Linked DNA regions of Homo sapiens: all the other regions are linked to region 1. The links are contacts of gene promoters, found by promoter capture Hi-C in blood cells and fetal thymus (Javierre and others, 2016). All regions are on one chromosome and are shown on one strand. The core of a region is centred on a gene start or on the middle of the fragment in contact, and the rest is flanking DNA. Distances in the headings are between cores, read along the strand shown.

Region 1 (2,802 bases), core at 222-2,721:
CTAGGATTCTGAGGTGGAGCCAATAGAAAGCTATGGGCTGATGTGGAGAGTGAGAAGACAGCATAACCAAGTTTACCGATATTTACTGAGATAGAGAAGGCTGAGGAAGGAGCAAGTTTGGCCTGGAATATCAGAAGCTCAGTTTGGAGAGGTAGAAAGCAAACTTCAAATGAACGCTCTGCAGGAAAACAGAAGAAATTTGAACTTCCCGATAGCCCTCTTCAAGGACCACTCCAAGAAAGGGAAAAGGCAGATTTTAGTATCCTCTGCTTACCAGGGGCCTTGGGCAGTTACGTTTTTGAAGCACTAATAGCGCCGTTTGTTCCCATTCTAAATGCTCAAAGTGCTTTCTCGCTTTCTCAGGGTTTGCTTTTTTTTTTTTTTTTTTCTTTTGAGACGGAGTCTCCCTCTGTTGCCCAGGCTGGAGTGTAGTGGCACGATCTCGGCTCACTGCAACCTCTGCCTCCTGGGTTCAAGCGATTCTCCTGCCTCAGCCCCCGGAGTAGCTGGCATTACGGGCGCCCGCCACTATGCCAGCTAAATTTTGTATCTTAGTAGAGACAGGGGTTTCACCATGTTGGCCAGGCTGGTCTCGAACTCCTGACCTCAAGCGATCCGCCCGCCTGGGCCTCCCAAAGTGCTGGGATTACAAGCATGAGCCACCGCACCTGGACAGGGTTTGCTTTTATCCCTTTGTCTCCCTCTGGCTTCCAAGCTGACAGGTACACTTTTTTCCCCCATCTGCGAATGTACTCATCTGATCCCATAAGCCGCCTCCACTTTCTAATTCCCTGGAAGCTTGGAGGCCGGAGAAACAAGCGAATTACAATCGTGTGGAGGCTCAGCGAGCTGCTGGCGCCACAGGCATCTGTCAGGTGCTGGCCTGACTTCCTGGTTCTGGGGAAAAGAGACTTCATTTCGCAGTCGGGTTCACGGAATCCAGGGCCTGAGAGGTGAGAAACTTGAGGTCCGACTGCGCCCCAGAACAGCTGGGTGACGTCCCTCCAAGCCTCAGGCTCTTCCTCAGGGCCGACGAACTTCTTGATTACCGGGGACCTACCCAAGTCTTTCTTCTGGAGTAAGCTCTGTCAAAGGAACCCACTTCCTCTCTAACTTTTCTCACGGATGATAAAGAGATTTCCGTTCCGCAGCCGACCCCAGCAACCCTGGGGCAGAGGTGCCGAGGCCTGGAAGCGGACCTCGGACGACGTTTGACCGAGGCATTAAGGCGGGGAATGCCTTACCTGCCCGGGCGCGGGCTGCTGAAGCCGGCGACAGAAGAACCAGCCGAACTAGGAAGCGCCGCGAAGGGGCGGGGCCTGCCGGGTTGGCCCCGCCCCACTTCCCCGATGGGCTTCATCTTGGCGCCTCCAGGCGGCTCCACAAAGTGAGAAACTCCACGTATTGCGTAGGGCGCGTCTTTACGTGGGCGCCTGCCCCTTTAATTACGCCCCTGTCGGAGGCTGAAACACTTAAGGCTTCCGGGCATGCGCACAGCGTTGTGCAAATGAATGCCTTCCACTGAACCGAGGTAGACGGGGTCGAGTTTCTTGCGCGATGGTGGGCTTGTATGTGTGTGTGTGTGTGTGTGTGTGGGGGGGGGGGGTGACGAGGTTGGCATTGAGGATCCATACCCTTTGCGCCCAAAGAAAGGTGACGTGGACTAGTGTCGTGCCTTTGGACAGGCAGAGTAAGAGGAGGGAGAAGAAACAGGTAGAGCTGCTGGCCTTGTCGGGGACACCTTTGGACGTGCTGGAGGGCAACGACGCCCTAGTTTTCTGTGAAGTTAAGTAGCTTCTGCAGGACTGGGTTCAGTATTTCTAGTACCTTCTCAGGATCCCTCCTCCGCCAACGAATTCCTCAACCACGGGCCAAGCAAACTACTCCCCCGCCCACTGTCAGCAGCAGTCTCTGTTGAATGGGAATACTGCACCTTCAGGCTTAACGCCACGTGGGCTCCTTTGCTGTCCTCCAGGTCAGTTCCACTCTTCTACCAGGATGCTGGAATTACATTCTCCCCAAGTTTCCCTACCTGTTTCACTTGCTTAGAATGTCTGTCTTCCTCCTTTTTTCTGGGAGAAAGAAAAGATCATTATTCTTTCAGGGCCAATCCCTACAGCTATGTTCTTGACCATGCTGTTTTGTTTTTGAACTCCTCTAACTGTTACTCCATCGGATACATCTTGCTCATTTCCATCAGAATCATCTTACAATTCCAAAAGCATGTTTTGGAATTGTGTCACTTTTCTACTCAAACACTAACAGTAGCCATCCATTGACCACCCAATAGATTCTAAGTCCTTGTCAGGGCATTCAACATCTTCCATAATCTGGTACTAACTCAGCTACATTTTCCAGCACTGTAGTCTCCCTGCATTCCCATCCCCACTGCTCTGTATCTGGACTGCTTGTTTTTCTTGCACACATTGCATGTTTTGTTTGTACATTACTTGTGAGGTCTCTGCCTCATTTCTATCTCTTGAACTATGGAGGACTTAGATGGCCACTTCTTGCATTATGCCTCTTCTAATTATCTTCCACTTCATTCCTACAGCTCTTATTTTGTACTAGTTATTTCATTTATTTAACAATAGTATTTATTGCAGACCTACCATGTGCTTGACACTGTTCAAAATGTGTGATCATCAGTAGTAAATAAGGCAGACAAGGTTACTCCTCACGTGGAACTAACATTCTCTTTGGAGGAGATATACAATAAATAATAAAGAAAAACTTTACCTAGAACTGCTATGCAGAAAATTAAATAGGGTTTTGTGAAAGAGAATCACTTGCTGGGCACGG
Region 2 (2,802 bases), core at 192-2,691, 2.8 Mb after region 1:
TCCAAGAACAATATCATCAAGCAAGAAACTTGCCTGAAATTCTTTTGAAAAAGAAACTTACAAATACATTGACTGTTTAGATGCTTAGTGCTGAATCATGTTTTTTAATACATTAGAAATTAAGCACCCTCAAACATTAACTTACCTGTGATAACAAGGGTTCCAGTGCTATTAGCTTTCCCTCTGTTATTTTCTGCAAAGCATGTATAGATACCTCCATCATTCCTTGTAATGTTGTTGATTTCCAAGCTACCATCTTCCCAAATGAGTATTCTAGTGAAATAAAAATATATATAATTCACAAACCTGATTTAGTAAAATACATTATTATGTCTTAGATTACAAACACTAATATTTTTCAATTATTACATTCTATATAAATCATGCGACCACAGACATTTTTGTAAGATGACAAATTCTAGCCTTTAGTTATAATATTTTTTCTCATCATTGACATTTTGTTTTGGAAATCCACTTTCATCTTTTTCTTGAACTATTGCCGTAGTCTTCTAACTGACCTTCCACTATGGGACAGGCTGAAATCAGTCATAGGCCTGAAAGAAATGAGCCCCGGTCTCCCAGAAATGTAACCTCAGGACTTCAATTCAGACTAGGAGGTGAGGACAGATTGCCATTTCCATGGCTACAGAGAAATATAAATGTATTTTATTTTTAGAAACTTTAAAAAATATTTTAAAACCTCCTTAGTAACAACTTCTGGAACAAATTAATATTTAGGAAATTCTTCTTTGAACAGAAACTAAGTCTTTCATACTACACATATTTCCCTACCTGTCAGCCTCTTCCTCAGGGGATGGACACTAAAAACTCACTAAGTTTTATTGTATAGAAACTCACACTTAGATTAAATATTGAATTGCCTGTCATTGGATTTTTTACTTTCTTTAAATAGATAATTTTCAAAACTAAATTATCTTTGAAAGTTTGCACAAAACATGCAAACGTATATCCATTTTAAGGGCAAAGTCTGATAAAAGAAGCAAAACTATCTACCTTACTGATAAAAATCTTCATATAAGAAAATAACAAAATTTCCGCTAACATTATAGTCCAGGATTTCCTTTCCTTTCTTGAACAATCCAGTCCTGACTTGAAGCTCATTTCAGAGTACTTTTTGTTGTTGAAGGAGAAATGAAGTATCAAAATAATATAATGATAAAAGTAATTATTTAAGATCATGGAAGCTCTGAGAATATGCCACTCTCCAACTCTGAGGAGTGTAATTTATTCTCTGTCCCAGACGCCGTACTCAGAAATCCATCACTGTGTTTATTCAAAGCCACACATTCCACAGGCTGTTCTTAGCCAATGACTGACCATGGGAGGAATTTTAAACCAGGCCTGCTCCTGGAAGACAGCAAACTCCTCTGATATGCATTTTTGAATGGAAGACTTTCCAGTGGCATGACCATACTCTTAGAAGTGCAGTGCAGTCCAAGTCATTTCAACACAATCTTTTTTCCTTCCTTCCCTCTGTCCTTCATCTGGGATCAGACCTGTATCTCAGTAAAATACTTTTCCAAGCCTCCACCAGCTTCCTCTCTATTTTCCCTCCCATGCATTGCCATTAATTAATTTCTTACATAGCTAATCTTCCTGGCTTCAGCTTCTTGGAGGACACATATTAACACAGTACCAATATTAATGGGTCACACTTTTTCTCACTACCCTCTAGTATAAATCCTCAGCCAAGTTCCCACATCCCTTTCATTTAATTATTTTTCAAGAAGCACAACAAAAATTATAATGAAGTAGCAGTGGAAAAAACAATGATGATTCTTTCTTAAATCATGCTAATATTTTTAGCTTACTTATGTTAGTTTTCAATTGATCTTTTACCATCTTTAAAGGGTATACATAATTCCATGTGTCATTCGTCTCATTTATACTTTCAGGTACTTTGCCTTTGAGATTAAAATTACTTTTTAATAAAAATATTTAGAAAACCTGATTTTTTTGTAATAATTCTCTTTATTCTTAAAGTAATATAGACTAAACTCTCAAGATCTTATCCTTATTTCCAGATACTATGATATAGATCAGCTGTCAAACAAACTAGGAACAATCTGGTCTTTAACCAATTGGTCACTTATTGGTACCAAAATTACTCCAGAATAACCTCTGGAGTAGAAAAGACTAATGAAGATCCCTTCCTATAAGTGGTTTAAATAAAAGTGACCTTAGAGCTAATAGCAATCCATTGAATTTAAATTAGCAACTAACTTAATTCTGCTAATTACAAAGAAATTCTGCTGCAGAAAATATATCATTTGAGCCAAAAATAAAATCATAAAATGAAAACCTAATTACTATTTATCAAGATACATAGCTTCTTCCAAATATCATATAAACCACTCTTTAGGCACTAACCAGATACAGAAATAACTTAGTTACGTGGAAATGTTGTTTATAATTATATTCAGAAGAATAAGATTATATTTATGCTTAAAGACCAATATTTAGTTAGTCCTTGTGTATTCTTTTTCAAAATAGACACCAAAATTTTTATGTTTAGCTTTTTATACATCTTATTTTACAATTCAAATATATTTGCATATGAATACTATATCTACTATTAAATAGTATTTACACTGAGATAGTAATGGGTTAAAGTACTAAGTAAAAATTAGATTTATAGACTCTTTAATCAAGGAAATAATGCAATTTGATTTCAAAGGCTTTAAAAATATCAGAACACAATCAAACTTGTAAAATTTCAGGAGCTAGATCTTTCTCTTCTTTTTTTGAACACATATTGATATTTAGGAAAAACAAGTCCAT
Region 3 (2,802 bases), core at 208-2,707, 2.3 Mb after region 1:
CATGCTCCATTGGATGTAGAGAATGGCAGCTATGGGGAATGTAGCAATATGATAGGAATAGATTAAATGGGTTGTTTTCCAGATTAAAACTGATTTTAGAATTTCACTTTAGTTTGCTCTGCTTTGGAATAAGATCTGTAGTGATCTAGTCTTTAAACAAACTACAGCTGAGGAAAAGCAATAGCTTTTCTTTCTCCCTCTACGTGAAGTCCATCAATTTGCAATTTCTGAGAGAATGCTAGGAATAAGGGCCTATGGTCAGAGTTGTATTCTGTGGAAAGACTGATGTGAAATCTCTGACAGTCCGTGGTGCTTTATTGATACTTTCTGGCCTGCTTCCATTCCACTGAATGTGACAAGCTCCATACGTGGGTGTGTGGCATTTGAGATTGCAGTCTACTCAAAGAGGGGTATTTTGTCATAAAGTACTACCAATTTCATAATCCACAGCTGCAAACTATTTTTTGAAAACCATTTTCAAAAGCACTTATTTTTTCAGACTCTAAAATGTGCTCACATTGTCCCCTCCTCTCTTTCTTAAGATCCCCCTTTCTCACTCTCCCTCATAATGCACATTTTCCCCTCTTTGATCAAGGACATATACACAAATATTAAAGAACATTCATGGCGATCAATCAGTGGAAACTCCTATAAGCCACAAGGTTTCAAAATACCTTTAGAAAATTCTCAGTGACAGAGAGAGCAGATTACATTAAGGAAATGAGAGGATATGGCTTTTATGTATTTCAACTTTTAGGAAATTTTTAAATAGTTTGTAAACATGTTATTCGATTTAGTATGTTCTGATATAAAGACTACACATCATACCATATGAAGACTAAGCATAGTTTAACAGCAAAGAGCATAAGGCCTTTTCTATTTCTAAAAGACACTGAAAAAGCCTAAATACAATTGACAAGTTGGTTGCAGATGAGACCTCTAACTCCTGCCAGTGTGGATCTTTTTGAAAAATTGGAGATAGCAGTATCAATTAGTTCCCTTCTCCCTTGTTGAAAGGCAAGAGACCCATCCTCATGCCCTCATACTATAGTCAGCGTAAATATTCTACCAGCCTCTCCTCACTACTATCTATGGCTGTCAGCTCCACACAGGTCTAACTAGTGTAGGCCAAAATGGTAAAAGTAATACAGGCAGCACCTTGCCTTGTGTCTACCAGATAAATCTCCTTGCTTATAGCTGGACTGGGTCCGCATAGCCCTTTTGGGCTCTTGGAATATCGAAGCCTGCTGCTTTGGACATCTGATGTGTTTCCCTTGTCTTTCGGATAGTAAGAAGGGAGCCCTGCTGTGAGGAACACTTTATTCATTCGACGTTTATTTAGTGGCTGCCAGATGCAAGGCCAAGTGCTGGAAATATGTTGGTTTACAAAATCCAATTCTGCCCTATTAATTGGGGAAAGCAGCAAAGTGGGAATTTTAATACAGTGCAATAATTAAGGGAAAAATACAGGAGCCTTGGGAGCACATGGTAGGGGTGGACCCACTGCAGCCCTAGGAAGTTTTCTAGAGGAGGTTGTCTCTAAGCTAAGGTCTGCAGGACCTAGGAAGAGCAGCAAGATGCACTGGCTAAGGGGGTAGGCATTGGGGTCAGACCTCTTAGGCCTAGAAGCCTGGCCCTGTCACTTTTTTGCTATGTGATCTTGGCCATGTTACTTAATATCTGTTCCCTCATCTTAGACATAGAATGTTGATAATATAATGTACTCCCTCCTAAGATTATTGTGAGAACTAAATGAGTCAATAAATGCAAAACGTTTGGAATAATACTGAAAGCATGTTAAGTTAGCTAATACAAGCTAGCTATTATTATTCATTCAAGGAAGTATTTGTTGGATGGCTACTATGTTTTAGGCTGTATTAATGAATATTATATATTTGTTTCCTTGCTTTTTGTTCAACTCCCCTTGTAGAATATAAACTCTAGAAGGCAGTGACTTTATTTTTGTTCATAGTTTTATGCCAAGCATCTAGTTGCAAGCCCTGACACATCCAATTTGTGTCTGATACAAAGGGCTATTTAAAATAAAGAGATACCCAAGACAAACAGATCCCCTGCCTTCCTGGAACTCGAAGTCTCAAGAAGTGTTTTCAAAACTTGGCTGCACATTAGGATTGCCTAGGGAGACTTTTGAAAATTTCTGATGCCTAAGCCTTACTCTAAGAATTCTCATTTAATTGGCCTAAGGAGTGATTCAGGTACTGATACAGCTTCTGAAAGTTCCCAGGTGATTCTATTGTACATCTGTGACCCACTGAAACGGGCTTATGGGAGCCAGCCATCAAAGGGCAGGAAAGTGGCATGACTCAGATCTTTGTTTTATGAAGTAGAGAGCGGATTGGAGTAGGTGATGAAAATGCAGGCTAAGGAGACTATTGCTCTTACAAACTCTCAATGTTTGAATATTTGCTCGAAAGCTCACAGAACACAATGAATTGGGCAAGCATACTTTTAAAACTGTTCAAGTAGGATTATTTGAATAAAATCTCTCTGACTTCCTTTAAATTAGGCAAAAATCAGGAGGAAGTATTCCTTGAATAGATCTTTATTTGATAGCACTATACTTACTCTCTGACAGCCAAGATCCTTTGTTTATATCTCAATATATTGGGTAAGTGCTTTCGTCAGAGAATTGCACTTTAATTAAATCAATTTCCTAGCTTCTCTTTAAAGAAGAGAAATGCAAGGAAGAGAGAGAGGTGGCCCACAGAGGAGAATGTGGTGCCAAGATGCCACTTCCACATGAGTCTTAATAAGGTTTTTGGCAGCTTTGGTGAGAAAAGT
Region 4 (2,802 bases), core at 214-2,713, 2.2 Mb after region 1:
GCACACTGAGGATTCCTGCAGCCCCATCCTCCCTGCCAGCTCAGAATGCCAAGAGCCACAGGTCAGCTCTCTTAAGCCTCCCCATAGCTCTAAGACATATGGTTTTAGTAGCCCCACATTTAGATACAGGAAACTAGCTTTAGTCCAGATAGAGCTGTCCTAGAATTGGAAGGAAGGGCAGTGTGGTATTATGGAGGCAAAGGAGAAAGAGCCTCTCAGGAACATGCAATGGCCAAGTACACCAGGTGTTGTTGAGATTATAAGGTAGTGGAAGGTAGGACTGGATTTGGTCTTTCAACTATTTCTCATCATCCTCAAATCAGATTTCAATGGGTTGAGAAATAAATGAGATTTTTTAAAAATGGCAGAGAATCAAAGTACTATTTTACGATGTTTGGGAAAAGGGACAATAGAGAATATGAAAGTCAAATATACAAATGGGCTTAATTTGAATTTTTTTTTTTGATGAAGGACACTTGAATATATTCAGACCTACTATGTTTCTCAGAGCATTCTTCCTTGTGCATGGCTCTGAATCATGTTTCAAGTGCTTGTACTCGGACCCTATCATCCACAAGGTATGGAGTTTCTTTTCCATTTTTTCCTTTCTTCATAAATATTCTCTACTATAGGTGATGAAATTGAGACTTACAATGGTTAAATGATGGAATAGAGATATATAACAAATCTACGTAGATCTGTCTATACCTATATCTATCTTACATATCTATATTCCATCATTTATATGGTTTCATATGTGTATATGTGGCATATACTTACACTATGAGTTTATATATACATACATATATATTTACATATATTTCACATATGTGTCAGCCATGATATTACATGTTCTTATATATTATCTCATATAATCCTATGAAGTATGTATTATTAATATTATCTTTTCACAGGTAAAGAACCTGAGTGTCAGAGACGTCTCACAAGTACTAAGCAGTGAAGCTTGATTTGAGTTCACTTCAGGCTGATTCCAGAAATAGTGAAATATAATTCCTCCTCAAATAAGCGATACAATTAGACCTCTAGTTTGTTGGTAATAAAATTTTGAAAGTCTGTCTTTGGCCTTTTTCTCTCCCCTGGGACTCTCTCATCCAGGCCTGGTATCTCCCTGAGTGCTGTATTGCAATAGCGGCCCACTCAGCATCTTTATATGCATGTCTAAGAGGTCTCTGAAACCCAATGTGCCCTAAAACTCCTGATTTTTGCCTCCTAATTCCCCACACCACACTTTCCCTCCCTCAGTTTTCCTCCTTTTAGGAAATAGCTATCTAATAGCTCAACTTCAAAAATGAAGAAGCTGCTTTCAACTCCTTTGTTTTCCTTATTCCCATAATTAGTCAATCAGCAATAATGTCTGTCATGTTTCAAAAATATTCACTGGCTTCTCTTCCCTTCTACTAACTGACCAAATCACCATCTGCTCTCACCTGAATTAACACAATCACCTCTTACTTACCACCTTTCTCTGTGTCCTTACCAAACTTGACAGTGTATTCGCCAAAAGGCAGCCAAAGTTATATTTTTAAAATAGAAATTAAAATAAAATAAAATATAAAAATAGAAATCATGCTGTTTCCTTCTTAAATCCCTCTAATATCCTTTTATTTCACTTATAATAAAATCCATAAGCCTTATGATTTGCAAGGTCCTGAATTATCGGGCCTGTAATTCTCCCCTGTCTTCTATAAACACCATTCCAACAACTCTGGCCTTTTTCTTTGCGTAGTACATTGAGCTCCTTCTTTCCTAAGGGACTCTGAACTCTATACTTTCCCTTTCTGTAGATGAGCATCTGCTCTGGAGCCAGGCTACCACAATGTGAATACCAGCTCCTCCATTAACCCACTATGAACAGTTCTTGACCTTTTCTCTGCCTCAGTTCTTTCATATGTAAAATGGGAATAGTTATAATACCTGTCTCATACTGTTGTAGTAAAGCTTAAATGAGTTAATATGCCATTGGGATTTTGATAGGAATTGCATTGAATCTGTAGATCACTTTTGGGTAGTACAGACATTCTAAGAATATTAATTCTTCCAGTCCAGGAACATGAGATGTCTTTCCATTTGTCTGTGTCTGCTTTAATTTATTTCAATATTATTTTATGCATTTCAGGGTACAAGTTATTTGCCTCCTTGGCTATACTTATTCCTAAGTATTTTATCTTTAATGCTGTTGTGAATGAAATTGTTTTCTTAATTTCCTTTTCAGACAGTTCCTTGTTAGTGTACAGAAGTGCAACTAATTTTTATATGTTGATTTTGTATCCTGCAACTTTACTAAATATGTTTATGGCATAGGTTGTGGTGATGATTTCATAAGTGTATACTTCTCTCCAAGCTCATCAAGCTGTACACATTAAACATGCACAGATTTTATATGTTCATACCTCTATAAAGTGGCTTAAAAATGAGTACATGAGTCAATATACACTAGTACTTTCCAGCAAGGGATAGTTGTTGTTATTGGTGAAGATTATTATTCCTTTTGATCTTTGTGTGGGTGGTTCTTTCTTTCAGTTTTCAGCTTTCAGAGATGCCTTCTTTGGCTATTCTGTCTGTACTTGTCCCATACTGGAATTTCACACTATTTTCTTCCTAACACTATCTTCATCTGAGATTTTCTTACTTCTCTTAATTTTTATTGCTTCTTTCCATTTTGAATACAAACTCCAGGAGAGCAGTGGCACCATGTTGTTGCCCCCTGTGTTCCCAGTACCTGAGACAGTCTCTAATACGAACTAGGTGCTTAATAAATATTTGCTGAGCAATGTGTGAAGT
Region 5 (2,802 bases), core at 191-2,690, 2.2 Mb before region 1:
TGACTGTTGTTCATTCATTTTGGATTACATTTTGGCTAACATGCTACCACTGACCTAAGATACTTAAGCAAAACTGCTGAAAAATGTTTTTAATGCTTTGTGTAGTAGATGCTGATGTTAAATTTTTTTCTCCGATTTGGGAATTTTCCCCGAATTTTGGGAAAAGCATATTAATAAATGCATTATTTTTTCGTTTTAAAAGAAAAATTAATTTCTACATATCACCACCTACCTCAGCAGCAGAATATCAGGGCAGTACATTTTAAAATAACGGTTGGTTTTTGTATTTTATTAGTAATTGTATTAAAATTTTGACATGTAATCAAGTCTGTTTCTAAACAATTGCTTTCTCTTTCCTGTTTCTTTGGCAGTTGGCTTGATCATGTCACTATTTTGGTTAAAAGATGCAAGAAAAAGTTCATGGGCCTTTTGTTTTTGTTGTTTTAACTAAGCAAGAGAAATGAAATCTTGAAACTGTCTTTGGATTTCTTTTGTTTTATATTATCCTATCGGATAATCTGAATTTATATTTTTTATGCAATGTGAGTTTTTTAAAAACAGTTCTTAGGGTAGCTGCATTTTAGCTATAATATTTTTTGGTGCTTGCAGATATTTTAACAGTCATTCAGTTTTTCACATTCAGATAGTGAACTTTTTGCCTGAGAGTTTGAGTACATTTTAAGATTTCACTGGGGTAAAATTTGAATGTTTGCTTACTGTAAGTATACTCATGCTTTAAAGACATTCTTCAGTATAAAGGGGAAGAAAACTGTAGAAGAAAATTTAAAGTTTCTAAATATGTTGCCAGAAAACATGTCATGGAGAAAATTTTACGGATAATTTTTTAATTTTTTCTGTTAATACCTTCATGTGGTAATAGGGCTAGTGTGTTAAGATCGAAACTTTTCAGGAGTTACTTAGCTCTCTATCGTCCTTTGGCACCAACTAGAGCTTAGACAGTTTTCTGGAAAACCTGTGCTTTTATTCAGCAGAGATAGGATGAATCAGTGCAGTTACATGATACTGTTGATTCATCATCAGTAACATCTTTTAGTAATCAGAAAATACAGTACTATACTACCCATCAACTTAATACTGAACTTTTAAAGTATATCAGAGATAGTTGTAGCACCTTAATTAAAGAGAGTAGCAGGCATAAAAGTAATAAAAAGAAAGTCAACTGTAGAATAATTTTCATTGTAACTTCCCTTTAGCAAGCCCTGCTATCACCTGCTTTTGTCTTTTAAGATGTAAATTGTACCTTGACTTACCTTGCCCAGTGAAATAAACTTAAAATCCAGATTTTTAATTATACTCTGTCCCCCAAAATAAGTTAATAACCTTGCACCTTGTCTTGCTTCTGAGCAGTAATAACTGTTAGTAGTGCTGAGTAGAGCCCAGAGTTAAAATATCCAGTATCATTCTCTTGCTATTCCCAAAACTCATCTTTGCATTGTATTTTTTTAAGTTGTGTCTATGAACTTAATGTATGAAATCCTAGTACATAGACACATAAAAATTCAATACATAACGTAAAAACACAACCACTATTTTGCTTTCAAAAATATCTTCCTAAAAAGTCACTGTGACCTTTGCTGATCTACAGTCTTTAACACTCCATAGCCAGAGTGATCCTGATAAAATGTCAGGTCATGTAACTTCTTTTCTCAAATGGCTTCCCTTCTCAGTCATAGTAAATTCCATACTCCTATGGTCTACAAGGCTCTATGATTTAAGTCTCTTCTTCCTCTCTGACTTCATCTCCTCACCCTTTCTCCAATCTCCTTTCCCCTACGCTGTTGTGGTCTTCTCTAACTACTGTGTATAAAACAACAGCCTTCCCCCGATATTTTGTATCTGTTTTTATGCTAGATTTTTCTCCATTGCATTTATCATTTTGCAACATATTGTGTAATCTAACTTAGGTTTATTGTTTATTTTCTTCACTGTGATTTATCTTCTGTGAGATCAGCATTTGTCAGTATTTGTCACCTAAACACCTGAACAATGCCTTCAGTGTAAGTTAATGAATTAACCTGCTTTCAGCTGTAAACGTTACAAATAGTGATTGTGGTTTGAAACTTTAGACTAAGCAAGTCTCAGTCTGTAGCATAAACTGCCAAGTTACTTATATCCATGCATGTGGGCCATGTTCATTTCAGGGGTCCTTGTTTTTTGTTGTTGTTTGTTTTGTTTTTGCTTTCAGATAGCATCTCGCTGTCTCCCAGGCTGGAGCGCAGTGGTGTGATCACAGCTCTCACTTTGGTGCCCAGGCTGGTCTCAAATTCCTGGGCTAAGTAATCATCCCGCCTTGGCCTCCCAAAGTGCTGGGATTACAGGAATGAACCACCACACCCAGCCTAAGGGGTCTGTGTTTTTAGAGGAGTATAACAGTATGTGACCTTGAAACTATCATTTGTCTTAATATAGAAGGAGCTAAGAATGCCTCAGCTAAGAGTAGAGCAGTGCATTAGCCTGATTTCATGCTGCTGACATACCTGAGACTGGGAAGAAAAAGAGGTATAATTGGACTTACAGTTCCACATGGCTAGGGAGGCCTCAGAATCTTGGTGGGAGGAGAAGGGCACTTCTTACATAGTGGTTGGTGGCAAGAGAAAATGAGGAAGATGCAAAAGCGGAAACATCTGTTAAAACCATCAGATCTTGTGAGACTTGTTCACTACCATGAGAACAGTATGGGGGAAACTGCCCCCATGATTCAAATTATCTCCCAACAGGTTGCTCCCACAACACGTGGGAATTATGGGAATACAATTCAAGAGAGATTTGGGTGGGGACACA

Evidence for each region. Contacts are between HindIII fragments. The CHiCAGO score rates a contact against its expected background, and 5 or more counts as called.
Region 2: a contact is called between a fragment that was not itself captured here and the fragment with the promoter of PUS7L in region 1, in 1 of 17 cell types (M2 macrophages). The highest score is 7.7, in M2 macrophages.
Region 3: a fragment that was not itself captured here is called in contact with the fragment with the promoter of PUS7L in region 1 in 1 of 17 cell types (M2 macrophages); the score reaches 6.3 in M2 macrophages.
Region 4: a fragment that was not itself captured here is called in contact with the fragment with the promoter of PUS7L in region 1 in 1 of 17 cell types (erythroblasts); the score reaches 5.6 in erythroblasts.
Region 5: a contact is called between a fragment that was not itself captured here and the fragment with the promoter of PUS7L in region 1, in 1 of 17 cell types (monocytes). The highest score is 7.2, in monocytes.

The regions. Positions count from the first base shown.
Region 1 is chr12:43,757,459-43,760,260 of GRCh38, reverse strand. PUS7L (pseudouridine synthase 7 like) reads left to right here and starts at 1,471. Exons shown (of 9, transcript NM_031292.5): 1 at 1,471-1,531. It overlaps IRAK4 (interleukin 1 receptor associated kinase 4), which reads right to left and starts at 1,310. Exons shown (of 12, transcript NM_016123.4): 1 at 1,245-1,310. RefSeq lists enhancers at 604-663, 1,284-1,393, 1,734-1,783. The HindIII fragment of the contact is 3,611 bases long and covers 801-2,802 here.
Region 2 is chr12:40,941,068-40,943,869 of GRCh38, reverse strand. CNTN1 (contactin 1) reads right to left here. Exons shown (of 24, transcript NM_001843.4): 13 at 146-273. Among named protein-coding and RNA genes, the nearest start is that of PDZRN4, 250 kb to the left of the region's middle. The HindIII fragment of the contact is 3,737 bases long and covers 1-2,802 here.
Region 3 is chr12:41,507,038-41,509,839 of GRCh38, reverse strand. PDZRN4 (PDZ domain containing ring finger 4) reads right to left here. Exons shown (of 10, transcript NM_001164595.2): 5 at 1-29. Among named protein-coding and RNA genes, the nearest start is that of PDZRN4-AS1, 96 kb to the right of the region's middle. The HindIII fragment of the contact is 3,456 bases long and covers 1-2,802 here.
Region 4 is chr12:41,523,506-41,526,307 of GRCh38, reverse strand. The region is part of intron 5 of PDZRN4 (PDZ domain containing ring finger 4); the gene reads right to left. Among named protein-coding and RNA genes, the nearest start is that of PDZRN4-AS1, 110 kb to the right of the region's middle. The HindIII fragment of the contact is 996 bases long and covers 966-1,961 here.
Region 5 is chr12:45,986,638-45,989,439 of GRCh38, reverse strand. The region is part of intron 1 of SCAF11 (SR-related CTD associated factor 11); the gene reads left to right. Among named protein-coding and RNA genes, the nearest start is that of SCAF11, 2.5 kb to the left of the region's middle. RefSeq lists a silencer at 2,688-2,737. The HindIII fragment of the contact is 7,512 bases long and covers 1-2,802 here.